Linked DNA regions of Homo sapiens: all the other regions are linked to region 1. Evidence: promoter capture Hi-C in 16 types of primary human blood cells and fetal thymus (Javierre and others, 2016). All regions are on one chromosome and are shown on one strand. Each heading gives the region's core, a stretch centred on a gene start or on the middle of the fragment in contact. The rest is flanking DNA. Distances are from core to core; before and after follow the strand shown.

The links. The method cuts DNA at HindIII sites, captures the fragments that hold promoters and counts their contacts. A CHiCAGO score of 5 or more calls a contact.
Region 2: a fragment that was not itself captured here is called in contact with the fragment with the promoter of OTUD4 in region 1 in 1 of 17 cell types (M2 macrophages); the score reaches 7.1 in M2 macrophages.
Region 3: the fragment with the promoter of ARHGAP10 here is called in contact with the fragment with the promoter of OTUD4 in region 1 in 3 of 17 cell types (M0 macrophages, M2 macrophages and M1 macrophages); the score reaches 7.0 in M0 macrophages.
Region 4: a contact is called between a fragment that was not itself captured here and the fragment with the promoter of OTUD4 in region 1, in 1 of 17 cell types (total CD4 T cells). The highest score is 6.5, in total CD4 T cells.
Region 5: a fragment that was not itself captured here is called in contact with the fragment with the promoter of OTUD4 in region 1 in 3 of 17 cell types (M2 macrophages, non-activated CD4 T cells and total CD4 T cells); the score reaches 7.7 in M2 macrophages.
Region 6: a fragment that was not itself captured here is called in contact with the fragment with the promoter of OTUD4 in region 1 in 3 of 17 cell types (total B cells, total CD4 T cells and non-activated CD4 T cells); the score reaches 7.4 in total B cells.

What each region holds. Positions count from the first base shown.
Region 1 is chr4:145,177,765-145,182,496 of GRCh38, reverse strand. It overlaps OTUD4 (OTU deubiquitinase 4), which reads left to right and starts at 1,908. Exons shown (of 21, transcript NM_001366057.1): 1 at 1,908-2,682. The coding sequence starts at 2,524. It overlaps LOC124900794 (a long non-coding RNA gene), which reads right to left and starts at 304. Exons shown (of 2, transcript XR_007058294.1): 1 at 1-304. RefSeq lists silencers at 1,502-1,901, 1,992-2,221, 2,342-2,801 and enhancers at 1,147-1,976, 1,977-2,806, 4,232-4,481. The HindIII fragment of the contact is 3,984 bases long and covers 187-4,170 here.
Region 2 is chr4:147,767,677-147,772,408 of GRCh38, reverse strand. All of the region lies in intron 1 of ARHGAP10 (Rho GTPase activating protein 10), which reads right to left. Among named protein-coding and RNA genes, the nearest start is that of MIR4799, 13 kb to the left of the region's middle. The HindIII fragment of the contact is 4,613 bases long and covers 1-4,253 here.
Region 3 is chr4:147,730,261-147,734,992 of GRCh38, reverse strand. It overlaps ARHGAP10 (Rho GTPase activating protein 10), which reads right to left and starts at 2,905. Exons shown (of 23, transcript NM_024605.4): 1 at 2,538-2,905. The coding sequence starts at 2,691. RefSeq lists enhancers at 861-990, 2,119-2,188, 1,509-2,401, 2,402-3,294 and silencers at 2,299-2,378, 2,689-3,208. The HindIII fragment of the contact is 2,455 bases long and covers 2,052-4,506 here.
Region 4 is chr4:147,677,644-147,682,375 of GRCh38, reverse strand. PRMT9 (protein arginine methyltransferase 9) reads left to right here. Exons shown (of 12, transcript NM_138364.4): 2 at 1,905-2,053. Among named protein-coding and RNA genes, the nearest start is that of PRMT9, 4.2 kb to the left of the region's middle. The HindIII fragment of the contact is 2,263 bases long and covers 990-3,252 here.
Region 5 is chr4:147,628,132-147,632,863 of GRCh38, reverse strand. TMEM184C (transmembrane protein 184C) reads right to left here. Exons shown (of 10, transcript NM_018241.3): 5 at 4,429-4,503; 6 at 3,172-3,265; 7 at 1,359-1,471. Among named protein-coding and RNA genes, the nearest start is that of TMEM184C, 13 kb to the right of the region's middle. The HindIII fragment of the contact is 1,008 bases long and covers 1,617-2,624 here.
Region 6 is chr4:147,608,680-147,613,411 of GRCh38, reverse strand. TMEM184C-DT (TMEM184C divergent transcript) reads left to right here. Exons shown (of 2, transcript NR_186679.1): 2 at 3,451-4,732. Among named protein-coding and RNA genes, the nearest start is that of TMEM184C-DT, 6.2 kb to the left of the region's middle. The HindIII fragment of the contact is 869 bases long and covers 1,576-2,444 here.

The DNA.
Region 1 (4,732 bases), core at 659-3,158:
TGTCTTGGATTAAGTCTCAAAATACCTAAAGGATTTCCTTAAACAGGCCCAGGGTCAGATATAACAGGTGCATCACTTCTAATTTTGGAACCAGAAGCAGCCAGCTTAGAGTGAGGTTGTTCTACATTCATTCAGCAGGAGTTTAGATATTACTTTGAGTTTCTCTTTGAGTTTAAAAGGCAAGCTTTTAAACTCAAAAACAAGGGCGATCCATGTTTTAAGTAGTGGCAATACTCAGGAATTTTTTTTTTTTTGAGAAGAATGAGAAGTATATGCAATGTAAGTGTATTTTAAAAAGAAAAGCAACAGGTTTGACTTGAAGCTATATTTTTCTTTTCCGTTTTTTTTTTTTTTTTTTTGAGACGGAGTTTCGCTCTTGTTGCCCAGGCTGGAATGCAATGTTGGGATCTCGGCTCACCGCAACCTCTGCCTCCTGGGTTCAAGCTATTCTCCTGCCTCAGCCTCCCGAGTAGCTGGGAGTAGCCTCCCGAGTAGCATGTGCCACCACGCCCGACTAATTTTGTATTTTTAGTAGAGACGGGGTTTCTCCATGTTGGTCAGGCTGGTCTCGAACTCCTGACCTCAGGTGACCGGGCTGCCTCGGCCTCCCAAAGTGCTGGGATTACAGGCGTGAGCCACCACGCCCAGCTGAAACTATACTTTTCTAAACCTGATTTCAAAGTGTTTCTTCGCTACAACAAGTAAATTTGAGGCAGGGACATTTTTTCATTTAGGTAACGATAACGTTTGTATTCTCTAAAAGCAGCATAATTTGAGATACAATATTTAAACATTAAGAAATCAAAGACGCTCCAAGGAAAGTGAATACATGACTGATTGCTTGCACTGAAAATACTGAAAAGTGTCTAACGTAGTTTTTAAAAAATTTTTGTCGTTGGACTCTCACCACCTGGCCTGCCTTGCCCCCCATTCCAAGGTATTTGACTACATGTCTAAACCTATAGTAATGCTCCCTTTTCTTCTCCCTCTCCTCCACCATAGCCTAAAAGACTGAATTAGTTCCTATGATTAACCATGTATTTAAATAAGGACACCAGATGTTGTATCTTAGCAAAATAAAATTTTGGTGCAACAGAAGCATGCTGGATAAATTCTGGGTTCTAAAGCATAATTTAACTTTGTCAATTCCCTGCCATTCAACGTCGGAGGGTGGGAAGTTGAGCTGAAGCCTCGAGCACTGGTGGAAGCCATGGCCAGTCCAGTCAGCATGTTATCAAGCAATTTACAAGATGAATTTTTTAAGGGGGAAAAAAAAACCCTAACGTCTTCCGACAGTGACATGTCTCTGTGATGGGGTGCTCAGCTACAGTGACAGGGTGAACAAAAATGTCTTTGGCAAAGCCTTCATCTTGCCGTAGTACGTGAGCTGTACTACTAATAGCAATCAGCAGTCCACGGTTGATTTATGGACAGAGTGTGTCGTCCCGCACCGTGCCAGTTCCCGGAGCCTCAGCCAATTAGCTCTATTTTCTGCTTAAGCCGTTAAAGCCACCTCCATGGAAACACCAGGAGAGCAGGCCGGGGGGAAGGGAGCAGACAGGTGCGCCCTCTGGAAAGAAATACACAAAGGGCCGACACTGCGCCGCCGTGTCCCTGGCAACTCCACGCCAGCCCGGCGCGCGCGATTCCCGCGGCGCAGCGGCAGGGTTGGCGGGTGGCGCGCGCAGGTCGCCCCACATCGGCCGGCGGAGCCCCTCGGCCTGCTCGCGGACGCGGCGCCAGTGCAGCGCGAAGCCGGCTTGGGGCGGTGGCGGTGGCGGCGGCGCGCCCGCGCTGTAGGGACTTGTAGTCCGCGCGCCTCCCGGGCACCTCCCCCGGGTAGGCCGGCCAGCGCGTCCCCGCCCGCCGCAAGCCGACTTCCTGCGGCTGCCAAGACTACATCTCCCGCCGTCCTCTCCGCTGTCGGGCCGAAAGCGAAAACAAATTCTGGGCTGCGAGGTGCTGTTCTCTCCCGGGCGCCCCCACCCGCTCCCTGCCCCTCCGGCGCCCTCCAGCGAGGTGGGGAAACGAAAGGCCGCGTCTTTCTTTTTGGTTTCCTCGGCTCCCGGCGTGGGGAGTGCGCGGGGGCGCAGGCCCCGCTTCACCTGAGCCGGCCCAGCGTGCGCGCCAGGGGCGGGGGTTTTCTCGCTTCACACCGGTACGGAGGAGGAAACTTGTGGGGGCGGCGACCCCCGGCCTGGGTCCTGAGTCAGGCAGCGAGGCCGTCGGGAAGTGACTACTCACTCTCGGGGTTTTCCTTAATCCCGCTCCCCCCGTTTGTCGTGGGCGCGTGTTCGCTCCGAGGAGGCGGCCGCGTGCGGACAGCCATGCATTAGGCAGGGCTTCCCTATGCGCCCGGAGAGCGCGGACCGCTGCCTCGGGCCGCCGCCGCCTGCCGCCGCTCGCGGAGCCCGAGCCCCAGCCCGAGCCGCCGCCTGCCCCAGGCCGGGGCGTCGAGCAGCCGGCGGCCTGGCCATGTGGGGCTAGCCCTCGCCGCGCCTGGCCTGCAGCAGGACCAGCAACATGGAGGCTGCCGTCGGCGTCCCCGACGGCGGGGACCAGGGCGGCGCGGGGCCCCGCGAGGACGCGACGCCCATGGACGCCTATCTGCGGAAACTGGGCTTGTATCGGAAACTGGTCGCCAAGGACGGGTCGTGCCTGTTCCGGGCCGTGGCGGAGCAGGTAATTGCGGGGGGGCGGGGAGGGCTTCGAGGGGAGGCGGGGACGGCCCGGCGGGTCTGGGTGGGGAGGCAGCTGCGGGCTGTCCGGGCCGCCCACGGCCGGGGCTGCGCGTGCCCTGGCTGTCGTCACAGCGCCCCATTGTAACGCCGGAGTGGGACGCTGCTTTGCGTCTGAAAGGTGCAAATTGAAACTCGAAAGCCCGCAAATTAACGGGGTGTCTCTCTCCTGATGAAGAGGTAATGAGTTGAGGACAACTTGTGAGGCCTGCTCGGAGCTTGTACAGTTGATTTATTGCTGGGGACCTGGCGACATGATATTTTTTACTTTTGTTCCGCATTCACCTTCCTTCCCTTCGTTTGAGAAGCACCACGCTCACCCCACTCCAGTAAACCAAGTGTTTACTAGAAGTGGTGGATCAAACTTTACTTGTGGAACATATTTTGGTTTGCTGCTGGACTTTGGAATGTAGGGTAGGCAAGCTCGCCCATGTCACTTGAATCAAATGGGCAAACTGCCGTTTGAGAAAACCAGCCTTTTACAAATATAGAATATTTTGAAGGATTTGTCTTGAGTAGGTTCCACCCTTTATTATGCTCTGCTGGGCTGTGTAGGTATACTAAACAGAACTGACTTTTTTAAAAAAGCCTGTTTTGATGTTGGTAGTAGAAAGGGTACGTGTAACTGGAGCTTTTCAAAACCATTTTCTAACACAGTTGCTCAGGAAGATTTTTCTGAATTTTTTTTTTTGAGCGAGCTTATTCCATGTTATATAACACTGTGTGTTGTAGGTGTGCAGTCACCAAAACCCATCCTATATTGAAAAATAGCTGCCGAAGTAGCTGGATAAAAGTTTCTGCTCTGGTGTGTCTTTCAGACGATTCACATGTGCTTTCCTTTGACCTAGGACCTGCTCCCCACACCCCATTGCACACCCCTCCCTACCCGCCTGTGGGGTTTTTATGATGTTTCTGTTTTCTTTTCCCTCACCTTTTTTGAATGCTAAATAACTTTTAAAATTTCTATTTGTGAGTAAATGTTTTACTTAACATGTGGAGGCCAGTCTGTTCTCATTTTTAAACATTGAAAGGCAAGCCATTTATTTACCATAGGTAGCGTAAAATCTTTCTTTAAAACAAGAAATTGATTTAACGGACACAAACCGTTGCTTTATGTTGCGGACATTGTCATTGAAAAATTCTTCCAAAAGCTCCCCAAACCAGGCTCTGTCCGTTTCTCATTTTCAGTGTTGCTGTGGGGTATGTTCACAGCCACCCACTGCCTCCGGTCCTTATTGTTAGTAGGTAAATAGTCTGCCCCATTTGTGAATTTTCTGAATCTCTGTCTGTCCTGCTTCCTTGGACTCCTCAGCACCTCCAGAAGCCTAGGGAAGAGGTGGAAGTGAATTCAGCCCGTATTTATAACGTACTGTTAGACCTAGCAAGAGTTTGGTAAGCAAGGAGGTAGAAATAAATGGCGGTAAGGGAAGCTTGGCGCTTACTTGGATTTGAGTTATCTTGAGTCCTAGTTTATATTGAAGCAGAAGGGTGTGCCTGATTTCCGTAGTGCATACCATAGATACTCGGTGGCCTTGATTATACAGAAGCCTCTTTTATTATAGTGGGATCTCTGTTTTTAAGTAGAAAAGGGGCAAGAGCTAGTTTACACTAAGAACTCTTTGTTACATCAGGTAACACATTTTATTGTATTTTGTAATGGGGTTTAGGTTAGGCATAAGGGACTACCCTTCCCAGTTATGTGACTCAGTTTTAGTCTGATGAGCTTAGCTGAAGACCTTGAACTTTGGGGGAAGTTCAGTTATTCAGTAGGCTACAGTTATAGCCATCATCGCCAAAGGCAAAGTGTGTGTGTGTGGGAAAAAGGAAGTAATACCAGCGTCAGGCTTCCCTTTTAAAATGTGTACCAATAATTTATATTTTTTGCCAACAATTTCTCCTATAAAATCACAAATACTCATCATTTCTAAGAAGGAATCAAAGTAAATAATCTAAGTGGCAGTTTTTAAAGACGGGGAGGAGACTCGAGTTAGGAT
Region 2 (4,732 bases), core at 698-3,197, 2.6 Mb before region 1:
CTTAAAAAAAAGATAAAAAACTGCAGAGAGGAGAGAGGAGAAAGGCAGAGCAGACCTAAAAATCACAAACTGTGTGATGTAAAGTGTCAACTGGCAGATACACACTACCGCCAGGTGGAAACACGGAACCTAGGGAGAGGGAGCTGAAGTCCACTGCTCTTATCTAGAGAAGTCTCAGATAATCCTGCCAACTGGGAAGGGAACAAGGGCCTAGCGCAGTTTAAAGGTGGAGATGGCACGTCCCAGTGCGCAGAGAGCAGAAGTAGAGAGAACTTCTCAGGAGAGATCCCCTTAAATTAGCATTAAATTACTCATTTAGGGCCTGGCGCGGTTGCTCACGCCTGTAATCCCAGCACTTTAGGAGGCCGAGGAGGGCAGATCCCGAGGTCAAGAGATCAAGACCATCCTGCCCAACATGGTGAAACCCAACCTCTACTAAAAATACAAAAATTAGCTGGGCGTGGTGGCGCACGCCTGTTGTCCCAGCTATTCAGGAGGCTGAGGCAGGAAAATCGCTAGAACCTGGGAGGTGGAGGTTGCAGTGAGCCGAGATAGCACCACTGCACTACAGCCTGGTGACAAGGCAAGACTCCATCTCAAGAAAAGAAAAAAATACTAATTTAGTTGCAAGAGTGGAGGCGAGGAAGATGAGAATTATGAAAAGGGGCACCTACATACTTAAAACACAATTTCACTGACATTTATTTACTGTTTATACTTGGATAGAATATAAAGAAAACAAGATTCTACCCCGCTCTAGCAAGGAGAAAGCTAACATTATGCATGCACTAAGCTCACATGCATATACTATTTCATTTAATCCTCACAACAACACAACACTTGAATGGGTACAAAAAAATTGTGCCACCTAGTATTTGCTGGCACAACAGGGTGACTATAGTCAAAAATAATCATACATTTTAAAATAAAAGAGTATATTTGTTTGCAAGAACAACAACAAAAATGCCTCAGGTGATAGATACCCTATTTACCCTGATGTAATTATTACACATTGCATGCCTGTATCAAAATATTACAGATAACCCACAAATATATATACCTACTGTGTACCCACAAAAATTAAAAAGTAAAATAAACCCACTTGAGCACATGTCATTTTCACTGCTGTTACAGGCGGCTGGACATGTCCCTCAAGTACTCATGTTGAATTCCTTACCCCCCAGAATGTGACTGTATTCAGACACGGGATTCTTTTTTTCTGTTTAAACAGAGACAGGGGTCTCGCCTTGTTGCCCAGGCTGGTCTCAAACTCCTGGGCTTAAGTGATCTTCCAACCTGGGCCTCCCAAAGTGCTAGGATTACAGGGAACATAGGGTCTTTAAGGAGGTAATTAAGTTAAAATGAGGTCATTAGGGTGGGCCCTAATCCAGTATTACTGGTCTCCTTAAAAGAAAAGAAGATTAGGACAAAGATACAGGCACAGAGGTAAGACCATGTGACAAGAGCCACCTACAAGCCAAGGAGAGGTGCCTCAGAGGAAACCAATCCTGCCAACACCTTGATCTCAGACTTCTAGCCTCCAGAATTACTAGAAAATAAGACTGCTATTTAAGCTGCCCAGTCTGTGGTACTCGGCTATGGCTGTCCTAGCAGAATCATACAACTGTCATACAGAAAAAAACAAACACCGAAGCTCAGATGGGCTAAGTAACTTGACTGAGGTCATGAAGCCAGTATGTAGCAGAGGTGGAATCTGAATCCAGGTCAAAATACAAACAAGTCTTTCCAAATTACTTAGCTTGGTACAAAGAAGTGCTCAATATATACTGATTACTTTTTTTCATAACACCACATGACTATAAGTTAAATACAGGATACAGAGATATAGCCATAAAACAATGTGATACAGGCTACCATTTCTTTGAGATCAAGTCTCGCTCTATTGCCCAGGCTGGAGTGCAGTAGCACAATCTCAGCTCACTGCAATCTCCGCCTCCCGGGTTCAAGCAATTCTCATGCCTCAGCCTCCCAAGTAGCTGGGATTACAGGCGCCCACCACCATGCCCAGCTAATTTTTCCATTTTTAGTAGAGACAGGGTTTCACCATGTTGGCCAGGCTGGTGTCTAACTCCTGACCTCCAATGATCCTCCCAAAGTGCTGGGATTACAGACAGGCGTGAACCACTGGCACCTGACCACAGGCTATCATTTCTAAGTGCTGTGATAGACAAATACTACTGTATCAGCAAGTCTACAGACTGGAGTTGAGCTCAAAATTGAGGCAGATTCTCCAATTACAACATTCATACTAAGGCCCATGTGTCACCTGGTCTAAGTCAGTGGTGGCAAGGACGGACAGGAATGGCTGGTGTATGAACACACACTCCATCTCTATGTGATCAAAGATGACAGCCCCAGAAAACTTTTTTCTTGCTTTTCATAGGTCCTTATGCTGTTATCTGGAACATGTGCATAAAATACAGAATGATCTTTCAACACTCCACATTAATTATTCTTAGCTCAATGAAGTACTCCTTATTCCACTGCTAGAGAAAAGTGGCAGTCCCTTCAGGCTCCTCTCTTTTCCCTTTTCCTCCCTCAACACATGTCTTAATTCCAGCCACTGGTTTTAAAACCAGGGTACAGGAGAAAACAGGTTCCATGATAGTATCCTATAGTTTCTTATCTGAAAAGTTCAGGAAACGGGTCATTATAACCAAAAGAAAAAAATATCTCAAACAGATGCCCAACTTTCAAAACAATTAAAAGACAATAAATACATGGCATTAAAGTTACAATGAGTAGAATGTCATCTCTGATGATTCAAGAGGGTTTTGTGGAACCTCAGGGTGATCACCGTAAGTATTAATCATCTCTGTAGAAAGAACTTGTTAACATACGGAAATCCCCGGGAAACAATGTCAGTTAACAAGGAATTTATTACATAAAGAGAAGCAATGCAGCACATACCTGAAATAAAATCCTTGATGCACAATTTTTAATGTATATTATACCATTAAAACCAAACAGAACAGAGAAACATGAAAACCTTAGATGCCTGTAGAATGTATACTTATTCTCTAAATAGGGGATCATCTTGAGTTATGGATGGATACCTTCATTTTTCCTTCTTCCTCAACAACATTTACTGAGTAATTTCCCTAATTACCTTCATTGGTGGTAATTAGGATCATGATGGATACCTTCATTTTTCCTTCTTCTTCAACATTTACTGAGTAATTTCACTAATGACCAGAACTGCTATGTATAGTGAGAAAATGTCTCATCATTGAAACAGATTAGTCCTACCTTAAAGCATTATCCAGTTCCTGAGAGCAATAATGAAATCATGCTGCATAATTCATTTCTGCCCTTTTTTATGTTTTTTTAATTTTCATATGCTGAATGAAGGCTGGACGCAGTGGCTCACACCTGTAATCCCAGCACTTTGGGAGGCCGAGGCAGGCAGATCACTTGAAGTCAGGAGTTCAAAACCAGCCTGGCCAACATGGTGAAACCCTGTCTCCACTAAAAATACAAAATTAGCCAGGTATAGTAGTGTGTGCCTGTAATCCCAGCTACTTGGGAGTCTGAGGAAGAAGAATCGCTTGAACCCAGGAGGCGGAGGCTGCAGTGAACAGAGATGGCACCACTGCACTCCAGTCTGGGTGACAGAGCAAGATTCCCTGCCAAAAAAAAAAAAAAAGACAAGAAAATTTGCCCCCATTTTTAAGCACTTAAATGTTTAAACAAACTCAAAAACAAAGTTGTCACCAAATTTATTCAGCTTCTACAATTTCTACCATCCATTTCTACTTTAAAAGGACAAAAATATTATGGTTTTGAAAAATGAACAATTATTTCATTATGTTCAAGTCTCTGGCTTCAGAGAAAATTTAGTAAGTAAAATTCATTAAATCTCAACCTTTAATTACTTTTTTTTTTTAATTAGGGAGACCACTGTGATGGGGCAAGGAATTTGGCAAGTTACGTTACTAACAAATCTTTAAGCTGATGTTAACAGCGGAATCTTTAGAATTATTTGACAGGTTTACAATGTTTCCAGACACTCAAAAAACCACTAGTACGTTCTTATCAGGAAGTATTTTACAACGTAATAAAGTAATGTAAGTACTGCCATCCTCAGATAGCTCCATGATTCATTCAGCCTGACACTCAGCTGTGGCAATAGTAGTGGGGAGCAGGAACCAGGGGGAGGGCCCAGAGAGGAAGAAGATGCCACTCACAGTATAATTGCACTGAGAAAGCTACTTTCACCAGAAATCTAAGCTTCTCAAGGTCAGGAGCCATCCCTTATTCTTTCCTGAATATTCAGCAGCTAGGACATGGGCCAACCAGATACAGGTATTTATTCAGTGTAAATATTTAAAAGTCATCCCGGAATAGTCCATTAACAAATATATGTTTCATGCCTGAAGACTTATACTGCACCATGGGTGCAGGGAAAGGTACTCCCTAGTATATTCATATATAACACATTTCATAATTTGATAATCTCATATCTTTGCTCCCTTTCTAAAGGGCTCTAATGTGTCTGTCCTGTTATTTAAGAGCTATTCCCTTGATAATACAAATATGTTATTCACTGGTCCTCCACTGCCATCACAATTATTTTCAATTTTGCCTTTTTGCTAGGGAAAGGACTCCAGTTGGACAAAAGCCACAGGTTAGAAGAAAACTAACATGTTTTATTTTTTCAGGTATGTAATCTCATTATATTGCCCAGAGTGGAGTGCAGTGGCTATTCACA
Region 3 (4,732 bases), core at 1,656-4,155, 2.6 Mb before region 1:
GAGACACCGTGCAGGGCAATTAAAAATAGAAATCACTTAAATACACACTTCTCGAAATGCTCAAAAGGTCATTTTTGTAAAATAAAATATAAAATATCTGGAAATATAAATAATCTGACCTAGTGGGTTTTATTCTTTCTGTAGATCCTCCACCCAATGTCATCCCTTGACTCTCTGATGTTATACAAAAGCTCAACTGGTTAGATGAACCATTTACCTAGACTGCAGTTTCAAATAACCTCATCAAGCCATTTTCAAATGCTGCAGAACCTTATTAGTTCCCCTAAGAGGTAGACAGGGGAAGTTGGACGCAAAAGAATAAGACCTGCTCAATTTTCCTATAGCCACGCCCTAACCAGTGAAGAAGAATTAAATTCAGGTCCCCTGACTTTAGTCCAAGGCTCTTAGTCTTTGATAGGAACTAGAAGTAAACTTTATGGAGCAAGCGGGAAAAGGCATGTGAGCTACAGCTGTGTTCCTGTCACCTTCTGGGAAAGAATTTAAACATAAATTCTTAATGAACATAACGAGAAAAAAAGACACTTCCCAATTACTCTCAAAGCATGATTACAAGTTATGTTTCTTATGCTAAAGGACGAGAATCAAAATGAGTAAGATACTAATTCACAAATTCAAGAAAGTCTACAGTCTGGAGGAAAGCTGACATCTGGCCCCCCAGATGCACTGGCTGCTGCTGGAACCTAACGCATGTGTCCTGATGGCAGGAAAGCTAATATGCTGTCACAGAAATAGCTTTCTACCAGTGGCCAAACTGGCTTTGCCCTCTGCCTCTCTCCACACCTCTCTAGCTCCAGAGGGAACTACTACAACCAATGAGAGAGAAGGTACATTCTCCCGGCCACTGACTCTGGTTAACATCAAGTTACAGAAAGAGTCCTCAGTCCTCATTCTCTCGTGTTCACTCTGCACCCCCGCTCCCAACTCCTCCTTTCTATGCTCACTCCTCCATATGTATAGGCGCCCCCCTACTTCCCACCCAACACACATACCAGATGCCAAGGGCCTGGAGAGCCCTCAACCAAATAAGCCCACTTGTCACATGTCCCAGAGTCCCATTTCTGATTCAAGCAGCAGAGACTTAAAAACAAAACAAAAAAACCCTAAGTGAGTCCCAGTCCTGATTTTGCAACACCAAAGAGGTCAGAGAACCAAAAGGAACCTTGGAGATCATCCAGAGAAGTTGAGTGACTTGCCTCCAAAATTACAGGGATGGCTCACTAAATTCTTCCCACAGAAATGTACTTCAACTTATTCATTAAATGCATATTTACTGTACCAGGCACCATGCTGGGTGCCCGAGACAGTATAATCAATATGTTTTAATCGCCCTTACTGAAAAATGGGGCGGGGCGCGGTCGGGAGAACAGTGAGATGGGGGATTTTCCCCAGAGGTGGTATCTACAAACAAATGTACAAGGGACGAATACCTAAGGCTGAGAATTACTGAACTGAGAATCTAGGTGAGTGATGAAGGCCCTAAGAACCCAGCCCCTCAAGGCTGGATACTGCCCAAGTCCCTGTCTGCTGTATGGACAGGTCTTTTAAAGGGGGAAAGGGGACATTCACCGCCATCCTCCGAAGGGGTTATGGATCCAAGGGATGGTCAGGCTGCCCAGCTCCTCACTGGGGCTAATTCCGCCCCATTTTCCAGTAGCATCACTAACTCAGTATTTCTGCATGAATTTTGGCCCCTTCTCTCCTAGAAAGACTCTCCTCAACTACACTAAAATACAGTTATCTCTCCTGTATCTCGTGTCTTCTTCCGAGTTTAAGAGACAGAAGTTCAGGGGAGGAAGGCACCAAGCCTAACCGGGGTGGAATTCCCTATTTGCAAGCAGTGCCCGCCTAGGCTAGAGGGCAGGCTGTCCGCTCACCCTTCCAAACCCCAATCTTTGAACCCTCCTCAGCACGGCAGGGGAGGAATGTGCGGAAGCAGCATAAAGCCAGGTGGACTTTCTGGTTTGGCACGTGAAGGACCTGGAACAGGACTGTCGGGGAAGATCAGACAATGAGAGGGAAAAGGTGAAGCTTAAGGGGACTCTGGAAAACTCAACACTCCCGCAGGGTTTCAAAGAATCCCCAAGAAATTTCTTTTGAGAAGTCACAAAACAAAACTAGGCAAACAGATGCCTCGGTTTTGTAAGAGATTGTGAGTAGCTTTAGGCAGCAATGAAACCTGACTCCGGGCCAGGAGTGCCTAGGGTCGGTCCAGCGGAGCGCGCATTCAGCGAGGGGTGTTCGGCCGGGGCCAGGCGGGGCCCAGGCGGGGCCCGCTGGCAGCTGGTTCCCGCCGCCGCAGAGCCGCAGGGGCGGGAATGGGGACTCGCCGCGCTGCCTCGAGGAGGAATGATTCCAGGGACCCCCCGGGGTTCCGAGAGAGCTGGGCTGGTCCGGAATGAATTCCCCGTTCCTCTGGCTGCTGGCCCCGGACACAAGACCCTCCGTCTCCTGCCGAGAGAGGCTCCCCCAGCCGCCTCGCCACGCCGCAGCCCGTCCGCGCCCGCGTCCCCGCTTACTTTTCGTCGCAGCGATGAGGTTCTTCCCGTCCTTAATGAGCTCTTTGATGAACTTGTTGGTCCTCTCGAGTTCCGCTTCGTGAGCGCGGATCCTCTCCCGGAACCACGGGCTGTCGAGGTAGCAGTCGCTGAACTCCAGGGGCTGCAGCCCCATGACGGCAGCGGTCGCTGCGCGGTGCGCACGGCCGCGCGCTCCTGCCCGAGCCGAGCTCCGAGGCCGCTGCCAGGTGCGGCGCCGCGCGTTCAGGGAGCACAGAGGAGCTAGCAGGCCCGGGCGCGCGGCGAGCGCGGCACGGACATGTCCCGTAGAGCCGAGTCCTGCGGCGCGGAGGAGCTGCCACCGAGACCAGCGCTAGCTGCGGCGCCCCAATCCCGGCAGCCCCCGCCGAGCTCTGAGCGCCCGCGGCCCCGCCCCGCCCGGCCCCCGCGCGGCAGACACTCCCCGAGGCGCCACCCGGCCGGGCCCGCGCTCCCGCTCGTCCCCTTCTCTTTCCTCCGCCTTCCTTCTTCCTCCCTTCCCTTCCCTGGACGCCTCTTCCTTCTCTTCCCCACGCGCAGCTGCCCCTCCTCTTCCTTCCGAGGCGTCCTGGGGCTAGAATTTCGCCCCGCGGCTCCCCTCCACCCTGGGCGCTCTCCCCTCCCCTTTGCTTGGGCTCCCGGGGCCGGGGTGACTCACAGTCGGCTCCCCGCTGCACGGAACCCGACCGGGACCGAGAAGGAGCGTCTTAATTGCAGTCGTTAGTCCCCGCAGGCGGGCGACATAACTCTGAAGTGGCTGCCTTGCAGGAGATGATTAACTCATTTATCTCATTTATCCTGGGACGCCCCCAACCCCGAGCTGGGAACGAACTCGCACAGGGGGCTCTTTTCCTTATCCCGGTTCCTTTCCCAGTTTAAAGTGAGATGCGTGGTAAATCTCCGCTTGAGATCGAAGCCTTACAATGGCAAGAGCGTTTTCTTGGTGGCCCAGCAGCTCCTATTACACTTCTCTGCGTATCCGCACTAAATAACTTAGTTGAAGAGAGAGGGCTGGCTAAACCACAGAAAAGTTGTTTCTGTTGTGTTCAGCACATTAAATTTGCTGGGGTAGGTGAAGACGATCTTTATTATTCTAAAAATAACTACCGGAAAACATGCCAGGTAACGTGTGGTTTTCACCGCGTGGGGGTGACGATCAATGAGAATTTATGTCAGTGCCCTCAAAAAGCCTATTTTGTGTGTTATGAAACAACTCCAGTGTGTCCCAAAAAAAGTTAGGCATTTTAAAGTATTAAAATGTATACCTTAGGCCGGACGTGGTGGCTCACGCCTGTAATCCCAACACTTTGGGAGACGGAGGCGGGTAGATCACCTGAGGTCAGGAGTTGGAGACCAGCTGGCTAACATGGTGAAACCCCGTCTCTACTTAAAATACAAAAAGTACCCGGGTGCGGTGGCACGTGCCTGTAGTCCCAGCTGAGGCAGGAGAATCGCTTGAACCCAGGAGGCGGAGGTTGCAGTGAGTCGTGATGGTGCCACTGCACTCCAGCCTGGGCGACAGAGCGAGACAATGTCTCAAAAAAAAAAAAAAGTATTTCTTAAAAAAAAACACTAATAGTTCATTAGAGTAACGTTTCATAATCGCAATTTATTAAGCAATTATTATGTGCCGGGCACCCACTAGGAACTCCATACATCTACAAACTCGCGATATAGACTTACATGATATGATGGTAATATTAACGAGAAACTTCAAAGTAATTCCTCAAGACGTTCAGACTCTCAGCTGGGTAATTAAGAATCTGTTTGGACAGCATGTTGTAGGAGGGTAACCCTCCCGAACAAGTTAAATAAGCCTCCTACTCAATAAGCCCTTTTGTTACAAAACAGCACCAGGAGTGCCTAACCCACAGATAAACATTATTACTCTAATGTCCATCCTCCAGAGAGTTCAAAGTGTTTTACAAATAACTTTTAGGCGGTGAAAGCTTCAGTTCCTACTAAAACCAGCAGGAGACTGGAGTCTACAGAAAAGAGAATAAAAGAGGCAAATAAAGGGGAAGAAAGACAAGAAGAGAGGGGGTGTAAACAAAAATGAGGGCCTAGCGAAACAGCCAAGCACTGACCACACTCAATCCTCAGAGCAGAAACCCAAACCTTTTCTCATAGAGGGGCTGCTGAGACTTCTTCAATATTGAACATGGAGGTTACCGTGT
Region 4 (4,732 bases), core at 872-3,371, 2.5 Mb before region 1:
GAAACCCCGTCTCTACTAAAAGTACAAAATTAGCTGGGCGTGGTGGTGCATGCCTGTAATCACAGCTACTCGAGAGGCTGAGGCAGGAGAATTGCTTGAACCTGGGAGGCAGAGGTTGTGGTGAGCCGAGATCACGCCATTGCGCTCCAGCCTGGGCAACAAGAGCGAAACTCTGTCTCAGAAAAAAAAATAAAAATAAAAAATTAGCTGGGCGTGGTGGCATGTGCCTGTAGTCCCAGCTACTCAGGAGGCTGACGCAGAAGAATTGCTTGAACTCGGGAGGCGGAGGTTGCAGTAAGTCCAGATTGTGCCATTGCACTCCAGCCTGGGCGACAGTGTATGACTCCATCTCAAAAAGAAAAAATAAAAAAGTATATTTAAAATTTGTAGTGCAATGCCTGACATTCAGTAGGGTAAGCAACTAGTCTGTTTCCTGCCGAACAAAGTCTGTGTTTGTTTGTATGGGCCCCCTGTAAAATGCTCATTGCCTGCTACTCTATTCCCCATACCCAAACTCCGGCCACACCAAGCCACTTATCTGTAGACCCTCTGATCCATTTCATATAATCTGTGCGGGGTTTTTTTTTTTTTTATAGAGTCTCACTGTATCACGCAGGCTGGAATGCAGTGGTGCGATCTCGGTTCACTGCAACCTCCACCTCCTGGGTTCAAGCAATTCTCCTGCCTCAGCCTCCTGAGTAGCAGGGATTATAGGTGTTCGCCACCGTGCTTGGCTAATTTTTATATTTTTAGTAGAGATGGGGTTTCACCGTGTTGGCCATGCTGGTCTTCAACTCCTGACCTCAGGTGATCTGCCTGCCTTGGCCTCCCAAAGGGCTGGGATTACAGGCATGAGCCACCGTGCCCGGCCAGAATCTCCTTTCTTATCCTTGTCTCTCTAGTAAACTCCCTCAAGATTCAGTTCCAAATATCAACGCTTTTGTATAAAATATGTGAAGATGATTTAAAATGTTTTAATGACTAAAGCTTTCCCTCTTTCCACAGTATTGCAGCATGGAGAATGGATGGAGGGAGATGCAGTTGGAATTAGAGTGACAGCGTTAAGGCTGTTGCTGTAGTCCAGCAAGTGGTTACAAGGGCCAGATTAGGTTGTAACTGTGGGAATGGAGAGGAGGTAACAGATTTAAAGATATTGAGAGAGCATTGGCTAGGTTTGAAACAGTGTATGTGGAGTTAAGGTACCATTATAAGGTGACTTTGTGGTTTGAGGTTGAGTGGTGTCTTAATCTTATAGCCTGTGTCAGAGGAGTATGATGAGTTCAGTGTAGAACATTTTGAACTTTTCCAAAATTAAATTTCTCTCTATAGGGCCTCTGTGAGGATAAGAACAAGATTTATGTTGCTTCAGTTCTTTGCACAAGGATTGTTCAGGAAATATTTGAGTTGGACTACATTTGCAATGGCTGGAGATCCATTGCCGGGTTGAAATGACTAATAGGAAGCTGTATCTATGAGTCTGAGGTTCAGAAGAGAAGGTCTTGACTAGAGATGTAAATGTAGCATCCATTAACACATGGGTGATAATAAATGCGTTAGGGATGGATGAGTGAAAAAAGAAGAGGGCCAAGGACAAACTCCAAAAACACAGGAGCCGACAAAAGTGAGGCAGTTCTGGAGAATAAGGAGAATGTGATACAGCAGCTAAGAGTGGGGGGAGTTTAGAGAGTGGTCAGACTAATTCTGCTTATTATTGCCATGTAGGTGGTAAAATTCATTCATTTGTGCACTTGTTCAGAAAACAGTGCCTACTAAAGTTAAATGAAGTTTAAGGTGATTGTTCAATAGTGATTAAGTTCGATTGCTTGGAATCTTCAACTAATGATGTATATTCTTTCATCTTTTATGTTATTGACTAATTCATAATTTTTTTCTTATTTGTAAAGGAAACTTTTCAGTACACACTTTTCAGATGGGCTGAAGAGCTTGATGCTCTCAGTCGGATACAAGACTTACTTGGTTGCTATGAGCAGGCCTTGGAACTGTTTCCTGATGATGAAGTGATTTGCAATAGTATGGGGGAGCATCTCTTCAGGTTTGTAGTGATTTTAGTATTACTTGTTAAGAATTATTCTGTATTAGTCTGGATAGGGATAAATCATACTGTAATTTTAACAGGGAAAGTTTAATATGGAGAATTATTAAGGAGAATTGAAAAGAATAGCAGATATATAATAATCATAGCAGTTTTAATATTTTGTAATATACGGCATAATAGCCACTGCCCTTAGGAGTAAGACAGAATATCCAAGGAAGAGTTCCCCTCACTGGGCTGAGTGCCACCCCTTATTGGAGAGGGCACAGCTGTGATTCTTAGGATGGCAGAAAAGTCACTGTAGTGCCTTGCCAGGGAACTTCTTGTAAATTTGTTTTCTGGACCTGGGTATAGTTTTGCCTCTTGGGATGCCAGAGAAAGCCTCATGGGGAAGTATCTTATCAGAGGTACTCCATTACAAAACCATGTAGTAGGGTAAGAAGCCTTGGGGAAGCTGCTGACCCTTGGATGCTGCTAGCTGCCATGCATTTCAGGAGCTTGGTGCTAGACAAGCCCTGTGCAGGAAGCAAAACTCTTTCTTGCTACAGTGTCTCTCCAGCACTGTTTTTTTTGGGGGCAGAGTCTCACTTTGTAGCCCAGGCTGGAGTGAAGTGGCGTGATCTCAGCTCACTGCAACCTCTCCACCTTCTGGGTTCAAGTGATTCTCGTTCCTCAGCCTCCTGAGAAGCTGGCATTACAGGCGCCTGCCACCCCACCCAGGTAATTTTTGTATTTTTAGTAGAGACAGGGTTTCACCATGTTGGCCAGGCTGGTCTCGAACTCCTGACCTCAAGCGATCCACCCGCCTCAGCCTCCCAAACTGCTGGGATTACAGGTGTGAGCCACTGCGCCTGGCCTCCAGCACTTTTTTTTTTTTGAGACAGTGTGTCACTGTGTCGCTCAGGTTGGAGTGCAGTAGCACCATCATGGCTCATGGCAACCTTGACCTCCCAGGCTCTGGTGATCTCACCTCAGCAGCGCCCCCACCTGCACTCCAGTAGCTGGAATTGCAGTACATGCCACCACACCTGGCTAATTTTTTGTCTTGTTTGTAGAGACAGGATTTTGCCATGTTGTTGCCCAAGCTGGTCTGGAACTCCTGGGCTCAAGCGATCCTCTGGCCTTGGCCTCCCAAAGCACTGGGATTACAGACTTGAGCCACTGCACGCGGCCTCTCCGCACTTTTTACCAACAAAGCTTACCCTTGTGCCAACTGGTGGGAGAATATTAAAGGGCCAGATACAGTTTTCACAGAGCAGGCAAAAAAGGGTGAATTTGGCAATAAGTTGATAACTTACATGTTGGGAGTCTTGGAACCACTCCCAGATTTGCTGATTTGCTGGAAGGGCTCACAGGCCTCACCATGTAGTCCTAGTCATGGCTCTTGTGTATTACTGTGAATGGATACAAAGCAAAATTTGCAAAGGGTAAATGTGTATGGGGCAAAGTGTAAAGGAAAACCAGGTGCAAGCCTCCAAAGTTCCTTTTTCAGTGAAGTCACGCAGGATGCACTTCATTCCCACGGTGAGTTATGACAGTACACGTGAAATGTTGCCAACCAGGGAAACTCATTAGAGGCTCAGTGCCCAGGGTTTCTACTGGGAGCTGGACACTTGGGTACCCTCTGCCTGGCATATACTAAAATCCTAGATTCCCAGAAGAAAAGCAGGTCAGCTGTTGAGCATAAACCACATTGTTTGTATAATCAGTTTAGGAATACTATCAGTTAGGATAGTGAGAACCCTCCCCAAATCCAAATTCCCAGATGCCAGCCAAGGGACAGTTTTGTAATCAGGCCTTTCAAAGGATGGCAGTCAGGCCTGCTATGTTAACTCTGCATACTAGTACATGTGCGTGAAGAATTCTGTGAAAGTACAGGAAATAAAATGAATGGTTAACATTGCTTCTGAGTTTGAACGTTTCAGAGTGATGGGGACTCAGCATGGTTCTGCCAAGTTTGAAAGTGACAATTGCTCACATTCGTAGGAATTTAGTTAATCTCATTTTAAATGTTCCTTTTAGGTATTTTCATGCATTTCCTCACTAATTGCTTTCTCTTTCCCTCAAATCACATCCAGCTAAAAAAAACCTTAATGTTATGAATAATGAACTACAAAATTCCTAAGTGACCACAGAATTTCTCTTATTAAACGTATCTCGAGTTCATTAGTTCTTAACAATCAATCTGCTACCTTTGTCTCTGGTGCCCATGGGGCCCTTGCGTGGCTCACTAGACTGTGCAGGGCTAGGGCTCTGGGAATGCAGTGTATGTACTCTGTACAGTTTTAAGACATTAAATTAATAGAGCAATCAACTCAGTATTATGCTTTTTTTTTTCAGTGTGGAGAAATAATGTTTTATAAATAACTTTTAAGAAGAACATGGATCATTAACCTGACAAATGTACTCCCCTGTGATAATTAATGTAAACTCTTTATATGGTCATTCACAATAAGTTGTATGAATATTTATTACAATTTTGGATCGTATGTCTCTCCTCAGAAAAAATTTTGAGATTTGATGTGTAGAATTTTTTGTTAACAGTTGCTTATTTGAAAAAATTCTAGGTCGGGCATGGTGGCTCATGCCTATATTCCCAGCACTTTGGGAGGCCGAAGCAGGCAGATCAGTTGAGGTCAGGAGTTCGAGACCAGCCTGGCCAACATAGTGCAACCCTGT
Region 5 (4,732 bases), core at 871-3,370, 2.5 Mb before region 1:
GCATAAAATGAGCAGTAGTTTTAAAAATGTGCCATTAAAAAAAAATCCAGTGCAACCTGTGTACCACCACCACCCTGCCTTTACAGCATATTGCTGAAGAAACTCTATGTTAAATATATTAATTTGCTTTACAAATTCATTTTTCTAGTAGTTTTGTCTCAAGATAGGGAGTCAAGCTGAGCATTTCAAGCAAATCTAGAGATAATGGCCCCAGGTAAAATTTAAACAGCAAATAATGACATGGACATGCTTTCATAGTTGTATACATAAGAATATTCACTTCAGTGTTTCTTATAATGGTAAAAAAATTAGGAACAACCTGAATATCAAAAGGAGATTAGTAAAAAGTTATATCCACATAACAGAATACTAAGCAAAATAAAAATAAAAATAAAAATCACCCCCTCCACAAAACAAAATAATATTTCTGTTTACTGACAAAGAACTGTATCTACAATATACTACTGAACATTGTCGAATTCCAAAAATTTTTATAGTATGAAACTTTCTCTGGAGTTTTATATGTGACACAGGTTTACCAAGATGTTAATCATTCTTTTCTGGGTGGTGGGATTTCAGGGATTTTTCTTTTTCCCTTTTTGTATTGTTTCTAGCTTGTTAAATTTGGTGTATTTGTTTCTAGGACCCCTATTACCCACCTCTTTACTAAATTCTTTTTTTTTTTTTTTTTGAGACAGAGTTTCACTCTGGTGCCCAGGCTGGAGTGCAGTGGCATGATTTTGGCTCACCGCAACCTCTGCCTTCTGGGTTCAGGTAATTCTCCTGCCTTCCCTGCCAAGTAGCTTGGATTACAGGTGCCTGCTACCATGCCTGGCTGATTTTTGTATTTTTAGTAGAGACTAGCCATGTTGGCCAGGCTAGTCTGGAACTCCCAACCTCAGGTGATCCACCTGTCTTGGCCTCCCAAAGTGCTGGGATTACAGGCGTGAGCCACTGTGCCCGGCCCTCTTTACTATATTGAACTATGTATAGTTTTACCTTCTGTTTTAAAAAGATTTACTGATTATTTTCCCATATAATTAAATATTCTACATCATGCTTTCTTCCAAACTCCATAGTATTCTATTATATGACAGGGCCATGATTTATTTTAATAATTATTCTAGTATTGACATATTTAGGTTGTCTCAAACTATTTTCTTCATATAAATGTTACAGCGACCATCTAATTATTTCTTTTGAAAATTGTAGAAGGGCTAAAAAGATGAACTTTTAAAAAGAGAAGTAGAGACATTTTAATCTATCTTCCGCATTAAGACTGTTTAAAAATCCTCCTTAATCAACGGTTTTTACTGCCCTTAAAAAAATGAGAACATTTAAAAAAAAGTAACACTTACCAAAAAGAAACAAAAACCACCAGCTTTACACAAAGAAATTTGCCAACAGGTTGGATTGGGCTCAGTTCTTCTTTTAGTACTTTATAAAAGAGCAGGAGACAATACATGGCAAACTAGAAACAAGATTAACATTTAAACTTGTTCAGTAATAGATATGGTAATAGAAATATTAAAGTTACATACCAGAGACCTGGTACAGAGTAATGTTTCAGGCAAACTTTTCTAGGCTTTATTATTCTATTTTTAGATTAACAAGCTTTCATAGTTTACTATAGATGAATATATACTACATACAACATCTTCCGTAAAAATGTTTTTAAGTGTTCACTTCCTGGGTTCCATAAAGGGAACAATAAACAAATGATTGACATAAATGGAAGAAATGGCTCTTGTTCAGCCAAAATAAAAAAATCCATCTGTAACGGCTTTTAAACATAAATTTCTGACCACTCATTTTATGAGGCTTTAGCTTATTACCTAGTCTATCCTATGTAACTAAAGTAACCCATTAAACAAGTACAATTTCAATAAAATTGTGACTATGAAATCTGAATGTAAAGAATCAAACAATTTTTCCTGAGAGCGGTGTATTAGTTCAGCTAGATTTATTTTTTAAAATGAACAAGACTTACTAACTTTTTAGAAATCTGTAATAACCTAGTGTAGTGCTGAATAACAATAAACATTTTCCTGAAAGTTCACTATTCCCTATTAAAATCATATAAAATGCAAATTCAAAGTATTTTAGAATATGAAACCAGTAAAGAAAGAAAGAATAAAGTGATTCATGGTGTCCAATCATCCTTTTTACACATAAGCCAGTTTTTAAATAACTGTCATGAACTAATTATAAAATTTTATTGCCTAATGTTTTTTCCACTTAAAATACATAACTTCTATATGTTTCATCAGGCTTATTTTTAGTAACTGCCTAATATTTTGGCCAATGGAAAGACCACAGTGCATTCAACTAGTCCCTAACATTGGGTTTTGGATTGCTTTCAGCCTTTTGTTATTTACAAGTAATGGGCTTTATATACAAAGATACTTTAGGCAAACATACTTTTGAACACTTCTTTAGAATACATTCCCAGAAACAGAATTACTGGTTCCAAAGAGGATGAACATGTGGGAAAACTTTAGCTACATGGACATTTAATTTTTATTATAAAGCTCTAATACCAACCATGCATACCACTGCATCTAAATTATTTTGCTGACAGCATTAGTCAAAGAATTTAAATAAAATGCACATTTTTTTAAGCTTGTAAGATCAAATAGGACATTACATCATAGGTCTTTGGAACATACAGTTTCTAGAACATCATCCATTTTTTTAAACTTGGCATTCTCAATTTTCCTTTAACTTCAAATATATGATAACAGAGAATTTTATTCTCACATTTTTATTCAAACCCTGTACCATCAAATACCAATTTGATATTTTCTCTTCTGAATATGTTCAGTATATGTGGGCGTGTGTGTGTATTTTTTTTTTTATGTAGCACTGTGCTTTTATTTATGACATACTCATACAGCTATGCAATGAGCAACAGAAATAAATGAACAAACATGGTCAACATGTGAGGGTATAAGTTGCCAAATAATAAACAAAGATGTTATTATATCTTTATATATGTATTAAGATATATATTAAATTTTTTTCAAGTCTTTCTATAAATTAAATTTCAGATTTAATTTATAGGAAGATTAAAAAGAAGCAAGCCTTATCCTAAGAAGAAACTTTGTCTAAAGAAATTTAGTTATAGATACGAATTTAGTACAGTTTAAGAAAAGTGAACATTTTACTTACCAACTGTGACATGTTGTTTATTATAACCAAATAAGTCCAAGCATTTGAAAAGCTAAAGTTCCCTTCGTCATATATACCAAGCAGCTCACAGATTCTAAAAATAGTAAAAATGAGATATCTCTGATTAAATCAAAATCGTACTTCAAAATACAGCAATAGCAATACTTAAATTTAGAAGTCAGTTTATTTGAGATCTCACTGACAATCACTTGACTTTGGACACAGAGAATTTAGAAGTCAGTTTATTTGAGAGATCCATTGACAATCACTTGACTTTGGATCTAGAGGTGGTTCAAAAATGAAAAACCCATTTTTTTCTAGAAATATTACTATATTCCTTCAACTTGAAGGAAATCCCAAATAAGACACATAACACTTAACTAGAAAGAGTACTAAATTTAAAAAAAAACAACTATGCTGTCTAATTTTGGGAAAGCTTGATTGTTAAACATAATATAATGCAGGTGTATATAACTGTAGTTGTTAATTTTTTCCCCTCAATTGTCTTGGAGGTAAATTTTATGAAGACCCAGATCCCCTCAAGTAAGTATGACCATCAGTATTGTTATAATCTTACCCAATTTCTAAGCTGCAGGGAAATAAAGCATGCCTTCATAATTAAATGGCTAAATAATTGCTAGCTCAAAGGCAGAATAAAGAATTCTTTCACAAGTCTTTCTTTCCACTTTTCCTCTGTGAGCATGCAAAATGTTAGTAACAACTAGGAGATAAAACATGTAATCTATTGGCATTAAAGTATTTGATGTTCTTGAATTTTTAGGGAATAGTTTTGCCAGGTAGCTTAATGATACCCCATTTTACCTCAATTCTAAGCCTTGATAGAATATATTAAAAGAAAATATGACTTCTTTCTTAGAGTACTTCTAATATATTCTAAATTAACTATGTAGAAAATAGAACTGTAATTAACCTAAAGTAGCATACTTTAACTTCATGCAATAGGGTTTCTGTCAAGCTATGTATCTGAAAAAGAAGGTATTTTTTTTTCAAAGTGCTTTACGGCCAGCTAGCTCTGGAGAGGATGTGAATATTTAGGAGACCCCTGTGGTGACTCTTTGCCTATAAATGGTCATGTTATTTATTTTAATAGAGTGAGTTTCTATACAGTGTTTTTTTTTACAACAGACTAGACCTGCATTATAAATAAGCACATTAACACTATGTTTTCTACTTAGTTGTTCCCACATAAGATCACAAGGATGAAAAAAAAAGTTCATATAAAATCCGAGTACTTACAAAGCAACGATGGTGGTGAAAGGTCTGACAACTGTGTACTGTAATACACCTAGTTTGCACCTAAACAGCAATACTCTGCAAAAGAAAAAGAACTTAGAATTTCAACTACTCATTTAAATAGCATCAGATTTTCCCCAAAGCCTCCAAATTAAAATCACTTTGATGAATGATACCATATTTACAGTTAATTCTTTCAATGTAGTCATCCTTAATAGCAGTGGCAGAAGAATGTGGATGGCAGGAAACAAATTATCTAAATACCTTTTTTATTTTTTGAGATATAGGATCTTATTCTGTTGCCCAG
Region 6 (4,732 bases), core at 761-3,260, 2.4 Mb before region 1:
GGCCCTGGTAACCATTGTTCTGCTTTCTCTCTTTATGAATTTGACTATTCTTGGTAACTCATATATGGAATAATATAATATTTGCCCTTTTGTGTCTGGCTTATTTCACTTAGCTTGATGTTTTCTAATTTCATCCATGTTGTATCATACATCAGAATTTCATTCCTTTTTAAGGTTGAATGATATTCCTTTATGTGTATATGCCACATTTTGTTTATCCATTCATCTATTGATATGACACTAGGTTTCCACCCTTTGCCTATTGTGAATAATGCTGCTGTGAACATGGGTGTACAAATATCTGCTCAAGTGCCTGCTTTCAGTTGGTTTCTACATTTTTAAAGAGTTGTAAAAGAATATTTTAAAATATTTACTATGGAACTTTTATAGAAAAAGTTTACCAACCCCTGATTTAGAGTAAATTTTAAAATTTTGATAATGGGCTATTATGAAGTTGCTGAGTGAATCTTTCCATAAAGTTCATTCATTTCTTCATGAGGAAGGTGATACTTAAGTCTTAGTAGAGTTTCTCTAAATATTTGAGGAACTCTGTTTGGTCCCAAGACCAACACTGAAAAATTACTGCTTTGTTTTTGTTATTAAGGAAGAACGAAATTCGCTGGTTTGAAAGCAAGATTCAGTGATTTTAAGGGGCTCCTGCAGTGAATTTAGAATGAGAGCGCACAAGAGTTTTTAGAGCTAGCATTGAGCTATGAAAAGGCCCCACTGTGTATAATTAGGTATGCAGAAGCTAGAGGCACTGTCCTTTCCACTTTTCATCTGCTACTCTAATTTTACTCTGAGTAGGCAATGTCCTTTGAATCCTAGCATGTCCCTAAGGCAGAAGTTTCCAAACTTTCTTGTTTCATGGTGCCCTTAGAATCTCACTAGTTTTTTCATGGTGTCCCTTAGCCAAAGAAATTCTAATAGTTTCACTTATTAAGTAATTAGTTCCAAACACCTAATTACAGACATTCGCATACGATCTGACAGATGTTTTTGTGTTTCTTTTAAAAGTATAAAACATCCTAAGGTGCTTCTGTGAGTTCACTCCAGCACGCTGTCGCTCTTCAGCACACGATTTGGGAGTTGCAGTCCCATCTGTGCTTCTGACCTGGACTAGCCTTTGTCCTTGGCCTTGCTTCTTATTTTATTCCAGATACTGTTCCCCACATTTTCAGGCTTGCCCAACAATTGTTTCTCATGGCTTCCTCTGCTTTATAGATTTAAATTTTACATTCTTGATTCACATTTATTCCCCCAGTATATTAACTTTTATATTGGGTTTTCTTTATAAAGGTTCTTTGTTTAAACTACTGAAATAAATATTTAAATGAATAGAACATTTGCCCTCATCTTTAAAGATGTGTTACTAGAATTACTGGATTAATCACTATAGTGCTGTCTAGTTTCCTCACAAGAAAGGTGATAAAGCAGTTTGAGCACCCAATAGGCCTTAGAAGTATATGTGGTGTTTTGTCACTGAGCGAAGAAGATACTTTGAACGGTGCAAACAACTTAACATAGTAAATAATAAATTACCTTTTCTATAAATTATTACTCACTAAGTAAGCTTTCTAGTAGCTCTATCTGGTGGGGAAGTTTCTTTTTTTTTTCTCTTTCTTATCTCCATTGATGTTTTATTTTCAGACCAATTTAAGTGATACTTCTAGAATATCAAGTTTCAGGTTAAAAGGAACTAGAAAAACTTAAATTACTTTAACAGATTTAAAACTAGGTAATTCAGTAGATTTGGGAGCAAAGGTCTTTCTGGTTAGGAAGAAGATTCTGTGTATTATTAAAAATGTGAGAAAGGAAAAATATTTTTATACTGAGACAAATTCTTTTAGGATTTAAATCAAAATTATTATGCACTGTATTTGTCCATTAGATGCTAGCCTGTGGTGATCCCCATAGAAAGAAGGCTTTGACTTACACAAGGTAAAGAGAATTCATGGGGAATTTTGTCCTAGTGTGGAGGAGTTTTCTTCTTTGAACATGAGGAGTGGTCTCTATGAAGTTTGAGTTTTACCTTTACTTTGTTTGTGTATTTAAGGCTGTTGAGCATCCTTGTGTAAACTCATGAACACCTGTTCTAGATGGTTTTCTATGGGTGGGATGTGTGTGTTCGCATGCCTGTGTAACTCCTCCCACACTGTAAAAGGAATGTTCTGTGCATGCAAAGCTCTGAATAGAGTCCATCAGGCTTGGGCCATAAATGGTGCCTCTACTTATGAGGTATCCTTACTATGTAGAGGTAGAACTAGATATTTTTCTCCAATAGTATAAATTCTATGATTTGCATTTTCCAATTTTCTTGTTTGGGAAATGAGAGGGAAACAGAAGAGCAAGGTCTTTGTTTTTTCTCTTCTTGCTTCATCCTCTCCCTGGAACCATGTGTAGGTCAGGATATAAGAATCTGGCAATTGCCCTAGAACCAAGCTTTTAAAATGCTCTCTATTCTCAGAAATACCGCTTTGTGATCAATGTCCCCAGGGAAGAAGATTTAAGGGGAAAAGTATCTTATCTGATGTATAAGATACATCTGTTTTCCATTGTCACCAGAACAAATGAACACAAACTTAGTGGCTTAAGTAATGCATATTTAGTATCTTACAGTGCTGGAGGTCAGAAGTCTAACATGGATTTAAAAGGGCTAAAACCAAGGGGTCAGCAGGCTGCATTCCTTTCTGGAGGTTGTAGGGGAGAACCTATTTCCTTGCTCATTGAAGTCAGTGGCAGAATTCAGTTCCCTGCAGTTGTAGGACTGAGGCCCCGCTTTCTTTCCTGGCTGTCAGCTGAGGGTCATTCATAGCTTCTAGAGAATGTCCACACTCTTTGGTTCATGGTCAGTCCCCTTCCTCCACCTTCAAAGCCAGCAACAGAGAGTGGAGTCCCTTTCATGTAATATCCCTTCTTCTTCATCTTATACTCCTAAGGACCCACGTGATTAGATTGAGCGCACTCAGATGATCCAAGATATTTTCCCCAATTCTTCTTTGTTATTGGTTGATTGACTGTACAAATGGGTCTTGCTATGTTACTCAGGCTGGTCTCAAACTCCTGGGCTCAAGCAATCCTCCTGCCTCAGTCTCCCAAAGTGCTGGGATTACAGATGTAAGCCACTGTGCCTGGTCAATGTCTTAATCTCAAGGTTCTTAACTTTAACCATGTCTACAAAATCCCTTTCTGCTCTGTGAGGTAACATATGCACAGTTTCTGGAATTGGGACATGGACATCTTTTGGGGGAGGATGGTCATTATCCTGCTTACCACACTGGTGATGTTAAAAAAAATAAGTCTTCAATTTTCAATCATTCCACAGGTCTCAGTTTTGTATATTGTGTATTAATATCCAGAGCTCCTTTTCCTATGCTAAATTTAGACTTTTCTACATACACTGATAAGCATTCGAAGACAATTCTTTTTTTTTTTTTTTTTTTGAGACAGGGTCTTGCTGTGTTGACCAAGTTGGAGTGCAGTGGCATGATCTCAGCTCATTGCAACCTCTGCCTCCTGAGTTCAAGCATTCTCCTCTCTCAGCCTCCCAAGTAGCTGGGACTACAGGCATGTACCACCACACCTGGGTAATTTTTGTAATTTTTTAGTAGAAATGGGGTTTCACCATGTTGACCAGGCTGGCCTTGAACTCTTGACCTCAAGTGATCCACCCACTTCGGCCTCCCGAAGTGCTGGGATTACAGGCGTGAGCCACCACATCTAGCTGACAATTCTTTTATAATATTTAATTATATAGAATAAAGGGAGAGAAATAGTGAGGGGGGATATGGAAATGAGTTTTACTTTTCCTCCCAAAGTGGAAGAAAATAACAACAATCTGTGAACATGTTTAAATGCTGATGGGAAGGAACTGGTAGAGAAGGAGAGCTGAATGTGGGGAACTGGAAATTATTCCTTGAATCTGTTCTTCCTTTCTGTCATAGTAAAAGAGTTTTAGTTAGGCACCTGGCCATCCAGCTAGAAACTACATTTCCCAAACTCCTTGCAACTAATGGTCTGAATAGTGACTAGGTTCCCCTAGTAATGCACTCTCTTGGTATGCTGGAAGGCAGAATGAGGTATCCAGCACAGTTGTGGTCTTCCGGTGGAATGCTAGGGTTCAGCATTCAGAAACTTGTGGCAGTGGCTTTTAAATTTGTCTCTTTAAAGCCCTGTTATTAGCAACCAGCTCTGCTACTACCTAGCAGGAGGTTTGGAGAACACCTCTTCACCAAGCACTGGGGAAGGGGCCTTCCTTGGTAGCTGTCCTCTGACTTCCAGAGAAGACAATGGAAATGCTGCAAAAATGGCATGTCCCAATTACAACGAGAAAATGGGATTCCAGAGAGGTAGAGGGTAGGTGGGAGTTGTTAATAGACAAAGACAAATTTATGTGCAGTTAGCACAATGCATCATGGAGAAGGAATGGTCATAGGAGTGTTTTGACATGAAATCAAGGGGCAGCTTACTGAGGTCCACTGAGTAGACCTAGACCTCTAGGACTACTGGGCAGAAACAAACTAGACACCATGTTAGGATTCATGGCTTCCTACCAGAGTCTCAGAACTCAGCCAGTGGACGGATGAAGCCCCTCAACAGAGATGGAGGCCAGTTGCCTCTGAAGAAGAACTCTGTACTTTAGCCATAGTGTATCCAGTGGATTTCCTCCCAAGTCTTCCACAGGGTGACCTGGAGCTATTCACCCAGGGGTCTGTGGACGGGGAGAAGGGAA